2 separate regions of the Homo sapiens genome follow, and region 1 is linked to region 2. Evidence: promoter capture Hi-C in human tissues and cell types (Jung and others, 2019). All regions are on one chromosome and are shown on one strand. The core of a region is centred on a gene start or on the middle of the fragment in contact, and the rest is flanking DNA. Distances in the headings are between cores, read along the strand shown.

Region 1 (3,180 bases), core at 175-2,674, 260 kb before region 2:
GGACTAGGAGGATTGAATTAAATTATAAAAGTGAGTGCATTTTCACTCATATATTCCTCTTATTTCCCTCTTCATTCTCCTCCTAAGCAATCTCATCCAAACCTTTAATTGCCACCTGTACACTAACAACTATGAACATTCTACCCCTGATCCAAGCAGCCTCTCTGAGGTAGGTAACTGATGTCTCCTCTTGATGTCTCATGATATAGAAAGCCATCTGCTAACCAGGTCTCCTTCCATTATTTCTTGTATTCCTGAACCAAACCACCCTACATCCAGTTTTTCCACTCAGAAGCTCTCCTTCTCCCTCACCCAATCATTCTGTAGCTAATCCTGATGATGTTACGTCCTAAATATCTCTCCTATTTGACAGCTCACTTTTATCCCTGCTCCAAGCTTCAGGCATCTCTCATCTCGACTATTGCAGTTGTCTCTGTCTTGGTCTGCGACTGGTCCTCTCTTGCTGTTCTTCAATGCATTTCACTTTGAAGCTTGAAGTGCTTTAGTTTTTTGGTTTCAAAGCTCAAATATGGTATGTGTAAAACCCACCCAAAGCTTCCCATTCCTTTCAGGATGAAGGTCAGTATTCTTAGCCTGGCCTTCAAGGTCAACCTACCTCAAGGCTTTTCCTTCACTCCTGAGTCTTCTGTCTCCAGCCATGCTAACTTTCTCTCCTTCTTTGAGTTTACAACTGTTGTCATATTCCCAGGGTCTTTGCATGTGCTGATTTATCTGCCATATACACTGCCAGCCGCATCCCTCCTGTGCCAGTGCAAGACCTCGTTAGTTCCTCTGGGATACACTTTTAGAGTGCTGTGCTTCTTTCCTTCAGAGCGCTTATCTCAGCATGAATGATCCATTTCTTTATGTGATTGTTAACTAACATCTTCACATTAGACCCTAGGGTCCATAAGGGCAAGAACGTACCTGCCCTAATGACCATTCTCTAGCACCTGGCACAGTGCCTGGCATATAATTTGTTGAAAAAAAATGAATACAATACCTTTTAGGGATTCCTTCAGATTCTGCTTGTACTGATAGAGACGTTTCATATGGAACCTATTTCTCTCAGAAATTAAAACGTTGATAACTCTCAAGATAATATTTTCCTTCTTCAGTGTAATAACCAAGAAAACTGAAGAGTACTCTGCAGTCTACCAAGAAGTTTGTGAGTTATTTGACCCTTACAGCAAATGTGCAAGGTAAAAGATGCAGAGTTCTGTAGTAATTTGCTGATATTCACATAGATCTATCATAGGTGGGACTGGAACCCGTATCTTTTGGCTTCGAGTTAAAATGCCTCTGTTGTGCAAAGCTGCCTCTAAAGTGGCAAGTTCAGAGTACACCCTGTAAAAGTGTTTATACAATTCTATTCATTTATATCTAGCATACTGTGTTCCCCTATATTAAGTGGGATGCTTTAGGTGCATTTCTGTGAAGGACTCTGGTTTCTATACTTTAGGTGCATTTCTGTAAAGGACTCCTGGATCACCCCTTTTGCCCCTACTACTTACACTGTGGTTTATCTTTTAAAACAATTATACATGTGATTAATATCATAAGCTCTTGCTTAATTGATTACCTGATATTATCTCTGAGGCTGAGGTCATCTACCTTTTACCTTCTACATATTTACATTCCTGTTTTAGATATGACACATTGGCCATATGAATTTACTCTCATTCCTAAAAGTAAAAATATAACAAGGTATAAACCATGGTAGAAGAGAATAGAGAGAAGATATCACCTGTCAAGAGATTTTAACACATTTTGAGAAGAAAGCAGATGGAGGAATGGCAACTAATTTAGCAGAGTGGAAGGAGCTTTCAGCTAAATTGCCTCCATGAGGGAGAATATATTAAAAAAACAAGCCCTCAAAAGTTCTGAGAGTTCTGGGACATCAGGTACAGGGAAGAGAAGGTACAGGAAGGTGAGCTTCATGGTTGGAAAGACAGAGATATAGTGAAAATTTAGCCATGCTCCTCTGTCCTGGGCCCTGAATATCCAAAGCATGATGATTACTTTCCAGGTCAGAGACTGGAGATTCTTCTCTGGAAATTCTAAGCCATTGCTCCAAAGAAAATCCCAGTCAGATCATTTATTTATTCATTTAGCAGATATTTATTGAGTTCCAACTATGTTTACTGTTCAAAGTACCATGAATAATGCATAAACTATACCATTACTCATGGTGCATATCATCTCATGGAGAGAAATGATGAACACATAAAAAAATACATAATGTGATTTTCAGTGGGAATAAATACTACAAGGTGACGCTGCTGTGGTGAGGGACTTTTTTTTTGGCATCATTCTTATATTCTTTGATCAGGGAGTAAAAATATTTGGCAGAACGAGTACTCCCTAGCCCCAGTGAATCTTCACTTACCTCTCATTGGCTGGTACCCTTAGATGCAAAAGAGCCTGGAAAAACAAGCATCTATCTGAGAGGAATAGGACAACCAGGCCTAGCTTAGCCCTAACAGATTCATCCTGTAGCTGAAATGTGGTCCTAGCTTAGCCCTAACAGATTCATCCTGTAGCTGAATTGTGGTCCTAGCTTAGCCCTCACAGATTCACCCTGTAGCTGAATTGTGGTCCTAGCTTAGCCCTCACAGATTCATCCTGTAGCTGAATTGTGGTCCTAGCTTAGCCCTAACAGATTCATCCTGTAGCTGAAATGTGGTCCTAGCTTAGCCATAACAGATTCATCCTGTAGCTGAAACGTGGTCCTTAGTAAATCAAGGCTCTCATCAAGGGAGAAGAAAGAAATCACTTATGTGGAATCAACAGACAATGTCTGCCATAAACTTACGCTTGGATTGCTTGAAAGTTTGAATTGTCTATCTGTTGGTTTCTCTCGTTTCTTTTGAAAATGCAAAGCCCTCTGATGGTTGTATGTCAATACAGCTATATTGCATGCGAGGTCATGTGACTCAGAATCCGGGTTAAGAGAGCAGGATGTCAGAAAGCAATGAGAATGTTCATTAGTGTATTAATCTGATAGGTATGTCATTATTTATTTACTCAATACACATTTTACCCAGTCTTGTTATGCCCCAAGCCCTTGAGAAACAATTAGATGAAAGATAGTTGCTAAATTTGTTGAGTTCTGAACACTATATTCCTGGCATGATTTTAATTATTTTACATGTATAATCTTATTTAACTTTAATAACT
Region 2 (3,292 bases), core at 616-3,115:
TATATGGACTTCTGGGAGGAATCTGGCAGTCTTATGAGCACTTTTCTGTGTTGTGCACTGTGGTTACCAGCTGTACCATGCCTATTTCACAGGAATAGCTGGTGAATATAATCATAACTTCCATAAAATTTGCAGAGCAAAGCAGGTTGTCATCCAAACAGAGTCCAACAATGTTCAGTGATCCGAACAAAAGTCAGGCCCATTTTCACCACTCCTGCTCTCTGATAAGCGTACATTGTCCTTTGAGTGTTTTGGGAGAGCACAGAGTTGACCTATTCTGGGGGACAAGGACTTACAAGATTGGACCACTCTGTTCCAAGTTTGGGCAATTTCAAAGGACAGGGCTTTGGGGAATTGGAACAACTTGTTCAACTTCATTGTGTTTGGGTCTCACTAAACATAGAAACCAGCCTCCCTCTTAATCCCCATCCCACGTGTTGAAAACCATAAACTCAAGTTACCACGAATAAAAGGCCATGGAAGAGTGCCCAGATGCCCTTCGGGATGGGATGACCCAGTTAGGAGGTAACAATGTTTGGGGTTGAGATTGTCCCTCTATTAGAAGCAGACAGAGAAAAAGCTATGACCAAAATGTTTGCATGGCTTAATTAAATATCAACAGATATCTCTATTCACTTTAAAGCTCCAGCACACCAGACAAGGGATCCGAGCTCCGGGCAGGAGCCAAAACCACCATTGCAGATATGCTCCCAGTTTTACCAGCTAATTAGATGTTAAACTTACATTGTAACAATCAACCTGATATTATTGCCTACTGCAGATAGAACTAGAATTCTAATTAGGTCAGAATTCTAGCTGGGATTGTGTAGATGGACAAATTCTTTCAGGGTAGTTTGATATCACTGCTATAATTTATGGTAAAGACAGTTGGGATCATACTGGCAAACTAAGTACCTGCCTACACTCCCTCAGGCCTAAAAATGCCATTGATTATCCCAAAAAAACTGAGAAAATAATCCACTACAGTACGGAAAAAGACAAAATAGGGGCACTAACACACAAGAAGCACTGAAGGCTTTCTGAAAGAGTAATCAGGCCTGATGTTTGTAGTTTTAATGTTTACTTTGCAAACAAAGGTAGAAACAGAGTCTGGAGCTCGGATGCCACCACCAGAGAGGGTGGCTGTTCAGCCTCTCTCCTGTGCAAATTAACCTAATTCTGAACCTGTCTTGGTTTAATTCGCACAATTTCAGGTGCCATGCTAGGTACACCACAAATATACCTCAGGGACCTCAATTGCAAAAACCTGGACTGCAAACGTTGGGGCTGCAGAGTTGACTAGGTTAATAAATTCTTTCTGAGGTAAAGCAGATAACACCCACTAATAAAAAGAATGAAACTTCATCGTCCCATTGGCATCCTCGGGTGTGCAGGTGTTCCTCAGAGCAAAGCCCATGGTGTGCCCCATCGCCAATTCGTGACAAGGCAGGGGGCGGGGGGCGGGGGAAGGAAAAAAGCCTGGGATAAGAAATCAGAGAATACAAGTCGCTTTTAAACAAAAAACAGTGACTGTTAGAGTACACCCACCATTGGGGTAACACGCAATAATCTCTCAGCATCACTGACTCCAGCACAGCTGGTCCCCTGGAAAAGGCACGTTGCCGGAAGGTTTTGTGTGTGACCAAGCAATTGGCCATCCCACGCCTTCGCCCTACCAGATGGGTCCCTGCCCCCGGGAGTCCCCTCCCCCTCCACCCTCCAAACCCAGGCAGCGCCCGCCCCTGCCCCCGCTGATTGACAGGCCGTGCAGCTACTCCTGGGAGCCTGGCTTTCGGGGGCAACCCAGGCAGAAGTGACTATCTCTGCAGCAGCCAATAGAAGCCAGGAGGCGGGGCGGGGAAGCGGCGCGGTCAGGTGCTCCGCTCCAGAGTTGAGCGCAGGTGAGCTCCTGCGCGTTCCGGGGGCGTTCCTCCAGTCACCCTCCCGCCGTTACCCGCGGCGCGCCCGAGGGAGTCTCCTCCAGACCCTCCCTCCCGTTGCTCCAAACTAATACGGACTGAACGGATCGCTGCGAGGGTGAGTCCAGGGGCGTGGGTGGCTTCCCTCCCGGGAACCCACACTGCTCCTCTGGGTCCCTAAAGCAACGTCCCCTCCTTGCCACTGCACATCTAAGAAGCCCAGGCCTCGGTGGGCGGGATGACTGGGAATTGGGAACATAACCTACGCCGCGACCATTCTGGGTGGCTAGGATGGAATCCTGGTGGAGAAGATGGACACCCCCGCCCTTGACGTCTACCCGAGCTACACAAACCTACTCCTTCTGCACTTTCCCTCTTCCGTTTAATCGGTGCCCCGTCCTTCCTGCTCTCCAAGTCTGTTTGTGGAGGAAGGGTTGGAGGGGAGAAAGAACTGGAAAGTACTCAATGAAATGTGGAGCCAGATCCAGGGATTCCACTGTTTTGTGCAGCATTTTGTGCACGAAAAAAAAAAAAATTCTGATTGTTTTCATTCCCCACCCCCCACCTCTGTTTATTGCTCTGTGTCATGGATGTGATGTTGAGTCTTCTTGCCAAACATTCCTAAGCTTTAGACAACACTTAATCTTTGCTTACTTTTGTTGGTCCCAAGAAAGCAGTTTTCTCCTGCTTACACATGTGCCGAATTAATTTGCTAAGATAGATGAAAATGAGGTGTTCCATGTAGTTTATTTCCTCTGCTTTTAGCCTTAAATTACATTTGGTTGATACTAGCCTTCCTTGTTTTAAAAAGGTGGGAGAGAAAATTAGGGGGAGAAAGGACAGAGAGAGCAACTACCATCCATAGCCAGATAGGTGAGTAAATATATTTGCAGTAACCTATTTGCTATTCCTTGCTGCAACTGTGTTTAATGTTCCTTCCAGAATCAGAGAGAGTATTGCCATCCAAGAAATCGTTTTTAAATATGACATTTGAGCTATCATCTTGAGACCAATACCTAAAACAATTTCAGTTTAAGAAATGTCTAGGTATGGTGAAAACACAGTTTAAAACCAGCAAAACAGAATTTATTGCCCTCAGCGAATACCCACAATGTACATATACCTTGTATTTCTGAAAGCAAAGCAAGCATGCCAAGTAGTTTTTATTTACCTGTACCTATAATACAGCAAGGTGAAACAGGATATATTTTTGAAGTTTAAAAATGTCTTCAGGCCGGCTGCGGTGGCTCATGCCTGTAATCCCAGCACTTTGGGGAGCCGAGAAGGGTGAATCACCTGAGGTCAGCAGTTTTGAGACCAGGCTGGCCAACATGGCGAAACCCTGTCTCTACTGAAAATACAAAAATTAGCTG

Evidence for each region. Contacts are between HindIII fragments. The study calls those that stand out against the background at their distance.
Region 1: a fragment that was not itself captured here is called in contact with the fragment with the promoter of ENPP5 in region 2 in 1 of the 25 tissues and cell types used here (hippocampus).

What each region holds. Positions count from the first base shown.
Region 1 is chr6:46,427,434-46,430,613 of GRCh38, reverse strand. All of the region lies in intron 2 of RCAN2 (regulator of calcineurin 2), which reads left to right. Among named protein-coding and RNA genes, the nearest start is that of RCAN2, 62 kb to the left of the region's middle. The HindIII fragment of the contact is 4,017 bases long and covers 1-3,180 here.
Region 2 is chr6:46,169,553-46,172,844 of GRCh38, reverse strand. It overlaps ENPP5 (ectonucleotide pyrophosphatase/phosphodiesterase family member 5), which reads left to right and starts at 1,865. Exons shown (of 5, transcript NM_001290072.2): 1 at 1,865-2,037; 2 at 2,731-2,792. RefSeq lists a silencer at 1,634-1,693. The HindIII fragment of the contact is 11,054 bases long and covers 1-3,292 here.